2 separate regions of the Homo sapiens genome follow, and region 1 is linked to region 2. The links are contacts of gene promoters, found by promoter capture Hi-C in blood cells and fetal thymus (Javierre and others, 2016). All regions are on one chromosome and are shown on one strand. Each heading gives the region's core, a stretch centred on a gene start or on the middle of the fragment in contact. The rest is flanking DNA. Distances are from core to core; before and after follow the strand shown.

What was found. The method cuts DNA at HindIII sites, captures the fragments that hold promoters and counts their contacts. A CHiCAGO score of 5 or more calls a contact.
Region 1: the fragment with the promoter of OR5T1 here is called in contact with the fragment with the promoter of OR5T2 in region 2 in 13 of 17 cell types (neutrophils, monocytes, naive CD8 T cells and 10 more); the score reaches 13.7 in neutrophils.

What each region holds. Positions count from the first base shown.
Region 1 is chr11:56,270,946-56,276,061 of GRCh38, forward strand. OR5T1 (olfactory receptor family 5 subfamily T member 1) reads left to right here and starts at 3,209. Exons shown (of 3, transcript NM_001004745.2): 1 at 3,209-3,227; 2 at 3,691-3,808; 3 at 4,541-5,116. The coding sequence starts at 4,694. The HindIII fragment of the contact is 3,205 bases long and covers 1,523-4,727 here.
Region 2 is chr11:56,232,592-56,237,179 of GRCh38, forward strand. OR5T2 (olfactory receptor family 5 subfamily T member 2) reads right to left here and starts at 1,664. Exons shown (of 2, transcript NM_001004746.4): 1 at 1,586-1,664; 2 at 1-673. The coding sequence starts at 471. The HindIII fragment of the contact is 5,726 bases long and covers 1-4,588 here.

The DNA.
Region 1 (5,116 bases), core at 1,959-4,458, 40 kb after region 2:
CGTGAATTTTCAAACTCCACCAGTAAAAAGAAAAGACAATTTATTGAGTGAAAATTCCAGCAAAGTCAAGCTGGAAGAGTAGATAAGCTTTTATATGTTCCAAGTTTCAGGTGAATTACCACCCCAACCCCTGTGCAGTCTCAATACAGGTGTCGCCAAAGGATCGTGAATGATTGAAACTGTGCTCAAGGTAATTAAGGATGTCACAAATGTGCAGCATATACACCCTTTCAGTAGGACAAGTAAAGACTTGTCCTTGTTTCCCTAAGGAAAACAAAACGCTGAAAAAAAAAAAAGCTAACTGAGTCAAGTAGAATCATTGGGAAGAAAAGCTTCACTAAGAAAGGAGAATTCTGGGAGATGTAGTTCTCAGAACACTTAGGGCAACATAAAATGTCTAAGGTGTGGAGAACCACTTTGAAAGGCAAGAACTGACTGTCTATAGGACTCAAGGAAGAGCAGGGAGAATTTGCTCATAAATTAGGCTTAGGTCTGAGAGCTAAAGTAGCTTTACAGTAATATTTTAAGGCCACAATGAAAGCTAGAGAGTGATTCCTTCAGCATGAACCTGGAAAAGTTACTTTGATATATCACCAACTTCCTATGTACCTTCTTCTGAGAGTCAAGATGCCCAGCACATTTAAACATGGATGGAGCAAGAAGATGGCAATTGAACTCCATATGATGAGAGTTAAAGTATACAAGGATGAAAATAACAAAATAATGTTTTAGAAGGTTGCCAGCAGCCCGTTACCATTGTCAGCAGCCTCAGCTACCTTATTCTGTCCTCTAGTCATTATCTATTCTGAAGCAATGATAAATTTATGTAATAGCTAGTTTTCTAAAGTTTTAATATAAACAGAAAAATTTACCATTTATAAGTGTCAGTTATATGAATTTTGATAAACACAAGTAGGTAAGCAAATCAAGTTATAGTATATTTTCATTACCCTATAAAGTCCTCTCATCACTTTGTAGCCAATTACTTTCCTTTACTCCCAAGTTCTGGCAACCACAGATGTGCTTTCTGTTGTGATTTTGCCTGGTCCAGGATATTATATCAATGGAATCACAATGTATGTAACTTTTTGAGTTTGGCTTTTTCAACTTAGCAAGAAGTATTTGAGATTCATTCCTGTACTAGATAATTATATTTTATACCTACTTATCACTGAGTAGTATTCCATATTATGGATGTACTACAATTGTTTTATTCATTCACTAGGTGTTGGAAATGTGTTTATTTTTCTGAGTAATGTGCCTTTGAATTTCATCCATGTCTTTTTATGACTTGATAGTTCATTTCTTTTTAGAGCTGAATAATATTTCATTATCTGGATAAACCACAGTTTATTAATACATTTATTTACTGAAGAGCATTTTAGTTGCTTGTAAGTTTTGGCAATTATAAATAAAGCTTCTGTAAACATCCATGTGCAAAACTTTGTGTGGATATTGTTTCCTTTGGGTAAGCACCAAGGAGCATGATTACTGGATTATAAGTAAATTTAGCTTTGTAAGAAGCTTCCAAACTGTCTTGCAAAGTAGTTGGACCATTTTGCATTCCCACCAGTAATGAATGAGAATTCCTGTTTTCCTGTTGCTGCACATCACCGCCAGCTTTTGCTGTTTTCTGTGTTCTGGGATTTTGGTCACTCTAGTTATGAAGAGATATATCATTGTTTTTTTTGCATTTCCTTGATGACCTATGATGTGGAGCATCAATTTCATATGGTTACATGCCATATGTATATCTTTTATGGGGTATCTTTGACTCATTTTTAAAATCATTTTTTTTTTTTTTTGAGACGGAATCTTGCTCTGTCGCCCACGCTGGCGTGCGGAGGCACAATCTCAGCTCACTACAACCTCTGCCTTTCAGGCTGGAAGCTGGAACTACAGGCGAGCCACTGCACCCGGCCTTTTTGACCATTTTAGGTGGTTTTTAAGGTCTTTGACTCATTTTTAAATCAGGTTGTTTGTGTTCCTATTGAGTTTTAAACAGTTCTTTGTAAATTTTAGATAACAGTCTTTTATCAGATGTGTCCTTGCAAGTATTTTCTCCTAGTCTGTTGTCATTTCATTCTTTTGATCATCCATGTATTTTTCATCACATTTTGGATAATTTCTTATGTGCATATCAAAGAACAAGTATATAGATTAGTATATCAATTCTTGAAGATAGAAAAGATCTCGCAGAACTTAAAAAATTGACCTTTAACTCTGCCATATATCTGAGTCTAATGTTCTAGTTCACAGAAAATTATTACATAGAACATCTGCATATTGCCCTAACTCTTCTGTTAATATTCTCTATTCATAGATTTACCTTATAATTATGTGCATTAATATCTCCTCTATTAATTTTTTTTTTTGAGATGGAATCTCACTCTTTCACCCAGGCTAGAGTGTGCAGTGGCATGGTCTCGGCTCACTGCCAACCTCTACCACCTGGGTTCAAGCAATTCTCATGCCTCAGCCTCCCCAGTAGCTGGGATTACAGGCGTCCACCACCAAGCCCGGCTAATTTTTTGTATTTTTAGTAGAGATGGGGTTTTTCCATGTTGGCCAGGCTGTTCTCGAACTCCTGACCTCAGGTGATCTGCCTGTCTCGGCCTCCCAAAGTGCTGGGATTACAGGCATGAGCCACCGCACCTGGCCTATTAAATTTTCAATGAAGTTAAATCTCTCTCATACCATTTAGAATTAGAGGACTGTCAAATTTAAATAAATATAGTAACCTTTATTAAATGATTATATGTCTTGTCATAGGTTATGTTTTCATATTATTTCATTATGTATGTGACAATAGGACTTCCAGATAATTCATAGGTTATAATTTCAAGAAGAAACTGAATTTTAGAGAATTTAAGTTATTAATTTGATAGCATGTAGATAATTAGAATCAGAGCTAGCACTATGGCCTGTATTATTAGCTTTCTTTTTCAGTAATATGCATATTTTTTTCCACTGGGGGATTATTTTGGACCTAGGTAGAAAGTACACTTATGTGATCATTGGAATCATGTAATGCATGTTCCAGATCAGTTACTTGTTCACTACAGAAAAAAAAAAAAATCATAATTTGTTTTATCCCAGAAGAGAATTAGTGTGTTTTCTTCTTTGGGCATCCCTGTGGAATTCTAGAGCTCAAGGGCCTGGTATAAGAATTCAAATGCACAATATTCATAGCATACCTGAATTGAGTGAGCAGTTCATTTCCAAAGGTAAGAGAAAAGGAATCTGATCACTTGTAAAATATTAAGAAGCTCTCACCTTGAATTTAAGACTAAAACATATTTCTTACTATTTAAATATAAGAAAGAGGGTTCTGTTTAATGTGAAGCTGTATTACAAATTGAATCACATACTTTCCAAGGATCATAGGAGAGAATACGTGTGTTGTTTTAGCAACAGTTTATAAAAATAATTGTATTACTTGTTATTGGATGGTATTTATTTTATAGAAATTTCAGAAGTTACGTAAGAATCATAGTAAAAGGATAGCCATAATTCATTTTTGATATAAATATGTCACAAAAATACACCCAAGGACTTCACAGGCATAATGACCAAATGATCATATAAATTGACACGTCTGATATTGGTTTTAAGTTAAAATCTGAAAAATAATAATGCTTAAAAAAACTGCACAGGCCAAAATGAACAAATTGGTGATATTTTTTTCAGGAAAGAAAAGTGAAACACAAAAGGAAAAATAAATGAAAAATGAACACCAAATTCTTTTGGTTTGCAAACAAGGTGCATCTATCTCCAGAATCAAATCTCTTGTATCCACCACCATTCTGTAAGTACTAATGCAACAGCAGGATAATTGCCAAAAAAAAAAAAAGGATTTGAAATGGTTTGGTCAGAAAGACTGTCTCAAATGATAAATTTTAATATAAGCCTGACATTGCATTTTCTAGTTATCTGGGCATATTTAAATATTAAATAACTTACATACTGTTTTTCCCATTTAAATACAACCCACTCTTATAATGTAGATATGATTGTTTCCATATTTAAAATGAGAAAAATAAAGTAATTCAATGGACTTTTTAGAAAACCTAGGAATAGCACTCAGTCTTTATGAGTTTTGAAACAATTTAATATTAAGAATAGATGGTAGTACATTTGATGGAAAATGAACAGGAAATTAAACTGATTAAATAGACTTTTTTTACACTTTAAGTTCTGGGGTACATGTGCAGAATGTGCAGTTTTGTTACATAGGTATACACGTGCCACGGTGGTTTGCTGCACGCATCAACCCGACACCTACCTTAGGTATTTCTCGTAACGTTATCCCTCCCCTAGCCTCCCACCCTCCGACCGGCCCTGGCGTGTGATGTTCCCCTTCCTATGTCCATGTGTTCTCATTGTTCAACTCCCACTTACGTGTGAGAACATGCGGTGTTTGGTTTTCGGTTCTTGAGATAGTTTGCTGAGAATGATGGCTTCCAGCTTCATCCATGTTAAAAAGATAAATTTAGTGCATGATTGAATAAAATAATTTATTTAATTTATTTAATTACAGTAATGTATCCACTTGGACCCAATTTTATCACCACCTGTGCATTTGCTGACAAGGATTTCATCTTGCTTTTCCAAGAAACGAACATGAGGATATAATTGGATAAACTTAATTTTCACAGGCTGTTGCATTTAGTACATATAAACAATAGCTAAAATGTCAGGGTTGCCTTCAGATATGGATCTATACAAGCTTCAATTAAACAATTTTACTGAAGTCACCATGTTTATATTAATAAGCTTCACAGAAGAATTTGATGTGCAAGTCTTCCTATTTTTATTATTTTTAGCAATCTATCTATTCACTCTAATAGGCAATTTAGGGCTGGTTGTACCGATCATTGGGGATTTCTGGCTTCACAGCCCAATGTACTATTTTCTTGGTGTTTTATCATTCTTGGATGTCTGCTATTCTACAGTTGTCACTCCAAAAATGTTGGTCAATTTCCTGGCAAAAAATAAATCTATTTCATTTCTTGGATGTGCAACACAGATGTTTCTTGCTTGTACTTTTGGAACCACAGAATGCTTTCTCTTGGCTGCAATGGCTTATGATCGCTATGTAGCCATCTACAACCCT
Region 2 (4,588 bases), core at 414-2,913:
ATGTATAGTAGCATGTAAAATGCCAGCAACATAGGAAGCATTGATGAGTGGCATGTAGACTCTGGGTGACATGCTCACTGAATACAGGAGAGGGTTGTAGATGGCTACATAGCGATCATAAGCCATTGCAGCCAAGAGAAAGCATTCTGTGGTTCCAAAACTACAAGCAAGAAACACCTGTGCTACACATCCAAGGAATGAAATGACTTTATTCTTTGTCGTAAAATCTACTAACATATTTGGGGTAATAACTGAGGAATAGCAGGCATCCACAGAAGACAACATACTCAGAAAATAGTACATGGGTTTGTGGAGCTGGGAATCCCTAATGACCACTAAAATCAGTCCTAAATTTCCCATGAGAGTGAAGAGGTAGATTGCTAGAAACAGGAAGAAGAAGATAGTCTGCAGTTCAAGATTGTCTGTGAAGCCCTTCAGTACAAATAAGGTAACTTCAGTGACATTCTTCATGTTGAAATCTAGAACAAACTTGAAGATATGCATAAAGTTACAGTTCATATTATGACAAAAAGAATGAACAACACCATGACTCAAGGGGATGTTAACTGTGCTCTTGTATATACTGTACGACATATATTCAGCAGTGCATAATTCTCTAGTAGTGAATCAGAAGACAGTGACAAACTGGTCAGCCATGTGTTCATGCCACTCACTGCAGAATCAAATGGAAGAAATGGACGTTCATTAGTTGGCTGGACTTATTCTGTTTCTAAAATCATCAGGTCTACTGGTTAATTTACCACTGAATTGTATTAAGCTGTTTATATATTAAATAATATTAAAACACACAAAAATGAGTGGCTTAAACAATCTTTGGGCATCCAAATACACAAGAGACTGTATCAGGGGACAGAGCATTGGAATACAATACCAGAATTTTAGAACTTGTAGCAATTGTGCAAAATGATTTGCTATATCTACTTGTCTATAGAATGAGAACATTAATAGTTTGTTCACAAGATTGGAGTAAATATTGAAGGAAAATTGCATTAATAAAATATAATATGTAAAATAATTTTGATTATAGAATATGCTGAATTAAGTTGGTTCTACATTCTATCAAGATTAAATCCAATGAACAGTTATGATTTTTTTCATCTGCTCATTCAAATGTCTCTGAATTATTCTTTGGAGAATGAAGAAGTTTTGTGAATTACTTGATCATTTTATGCCAAAAATAAACATGCAAATTACCATGATTCCATTTTCTACATTACAATTGTCTTAATTTTGCTTTGTGCAAATAAGATACTTCAACCAAATTTCTTGTGAGACAGGCATTTCTACTAGATGCCAAAATAAGTTATATTGGGTAAAAATTAAGTTAATATTAGCACATAGTCAAAGATTCAGAGTTATAAAGAGAAAATCACTATGATTCTTGAAGATTTAATAATATAGAATCAACTTTTTAAATTAATGCAAATCTATTTTTATGAAACAAATTTTAATGGAAGGGAGAAAACTTTAAATATCGTGAATGTAATAACGAAACACTAAGTTTGCTAAATAACAGGCATTTATTTAGCACTTGCTGCAAGAACAGACATTTCTTGTACATTACCTTATTTCACCTTTATAGCAACTTTCATAGCTAACAATTTCCAGAGCCAAGATTCAATCCCAGGTTTCTCTCATTGTACATGAAATTTTTGCATTTTTTCATGGCCTCATAAATGGCTTCATTCTGCAACTGGAACACTCTTCCTCTTACCCCTCTGCTGACCTCAGGGAAATAAAGGTAAAGCAAAACATGATTCTCGATGTATTTGTATTTTTTAAGCCATTAAATCTAGAGAAACATAAAATAAGTAGCAATCTGAAGTGACTTCTAGATTATAAAGCCAGAAAATAAATTTAAAATAAGTATTGATTGTTTTCCTTATTACTTCAAAATACAAGACCCCAGATAAATGAATAAGTCAAATGTTTTTTTGCCCTTTGTTGATATTTATTGGTAAATTCATGACCTTTGAACTATCTTTATCTATAAGAAAAATACAAGCATATACTCTATTAGGAGCACTCTTATTTATCTCTATAAGTACAAATACAATATTTTCTATTTTTTATTGTTTTCTAGTAAGTGTTGGATTTTAATTCTTAGGCATAACTCTAAATAAATCATATTTTGATGAATACACTTGATTCACATATGTAATAGTCCAGAACTGAAGTGTTTAGTTCTTGGTGTTTAGCAGCTAAAAAGTTTAGTAAAAAAAAACATAGTTATTCTTGATATTGTAGGTTCTAGCTGCCGAAATATTCTTCAAATTATCTGAAATTTTCTCTTACCTGTGGAACAGCAAATGCAGATTTAGGTATTCTATGAATATGGCTAACTTAGATTGTTTATATCTTTGTAATTGACTGTTGATGAAATCCAAGGAGATGTCCCAAGGGGAATATGCCCCAATTATCTTCTGTTTCAAAATAGCACCATGATGATTTACTTAATAATAAAAAGTAAATGATTCCGGAATAAGGCACTGCATGCTCCTACTTATTGAATCAATAGAGTTCTTTGGCTTCTGTTTAAAATGTGTCAGATTTGAATTTCCCTGATGACTACTGATGTTGAACATCTTTTCATACATCTGAAGGCCATTTGTATGTCTTCTTTGGAAAAAAAATGTATTCAAGTCCTTTGCCAGTTTTAAAATAAGATTATTGTTATTGTGGCTATTGAATTTATATATTTTGATATTAATCCCCTATTAGATATATCATTTACAAATATTTTTTGTTTGGCTGATGGTTTTCTTCATTGTGCAGAAGATTTTGACTTTGACGTAGCCCTACTTGTCTAATTTTGGTTTTGTTACTTGGCTTTTTATGTCATTGCTTGTATTTTTATGTTACATCCAACAAGTTACTGCCAAGCTGAAGGTCCTAAAGTTTTTCCTTATGTTTTCTTCTAGAAATTGTAGTTTCAGGTTTTATGTTTAAATTTTTAATCCATTTTGGGTTGGTTATTTTATATGGTATAAGACAAGGGTCCAATTTAATTTCCCATTGTGTATTCTTGGCACACTTGTGAAAGATCATTTGACTATATACATGTGGGATTGTTTCCAGGCTCCCTATTCTGTTCCGTTGGTCTATATATCTGTCCTTATTCCAGTCCCATGCTATTTAATTACTGTAGTTTTGTAATATCATTGAAATAAAAAAGTATAATACCTCTAGCTTTGTTTTTCTTTCTCAAGATTCCTTTGGCTATTTGAAGTCTTTTGTAATTGCACATAATTTTTACGATGTTTTTTCTATTTCTGTAAAACCCAGCACTAGGATTTTGCAGGAAATGCATTAAATCTGAAGACCCCTTTGGGTAATATGGAGATTTTAATTATTGCAGATCAAAACCACAATGAGATATCATCACACACCTGTTATGGCCATTATTTAAAAAAAAAAAGTATTGATAAGAATGTGGAGAAATTGGAACCCTGGTGTACTGTTGACAAGAATATAAAACAGTGCAGCCATGATTGAAAATAGTATGGAAGTTCCTTGAAACATTAAAAACAGGATTACTATACAATCCTGAAATTCTGAAACCACCTTCGCAAAATTATGACAGTAAGAGAAATCTGCCATGACTGACTTCTTCTTGCTTCTATCATCACAGGCTGTCTGTCTTTGCTCATCTCTGGGCATGGACCAAATAACTTCGGGAGAAATTTAGTTTATAGTTTAAATGATAATAGTCCTTTGCAAAAACTAAACCACCTTTGTAAAACTAATCAAAGGCACCAAGTTAAGAGGATGAGAGGAGTCTGTGTTCTGCTAAGATATAGGCCTAGTAAAATGATTACCAGCCATTTTTTCCTGGAAGTCACAAGATTTGCAGCTTCCCCAATTATTCCTGCAGATAACATAGCTATTGTAGAACCTAAGATTGGCATTTTGAGATTCTTTTCAAATATTTGTATATCTGATAGCTGGATGGCCCCACCTGGACCTCTGACTCAAACAGTCATGTGGCCCCCACCCAGAAACACACTCAACACATGAGGATCATTTTCCACATCCCTATGATTCATCCTAAACTGATCAGCAACACCCATACCCTAGCCCTCTGCCCATCAAACTATCTTTGAAAAGCACCTAACTTTCAAGCCTTCAAGGAGATTGAATTGAGTAATAACTCCCTCTCCCATATGGTGTGGCAAGCCTCATCTCTTTTGCTTATTCTCATGCATTTTCATCCTCATAGCTTAGCTCCAGCTTATGAATGAGATGACATGATATTTATTTTTCCATTCTTTTCTTTACTGCAATGCCGTGGTCTCAGTAAATTGATTTTGTCTGTGGAGCAGTCAGCAAAAAATCCATTTGGCAGTTACAATTCGATATCTGGGTATTTATCCAAAATACTTGAAATCAGGATTTTGAAGATATATGTAGTCCATGTTTAATGCAGTATTATTCACAATGGCCAAAATGTGGAAGCAACCTAAATGTGCATTAATAGATTAATGGCAAACGAATAAGAGGTATATACACAGCTTTAAAAAGAGTAGACCCTGTCATATGTGTTATCATGGTAGAACCAGGAGGACTT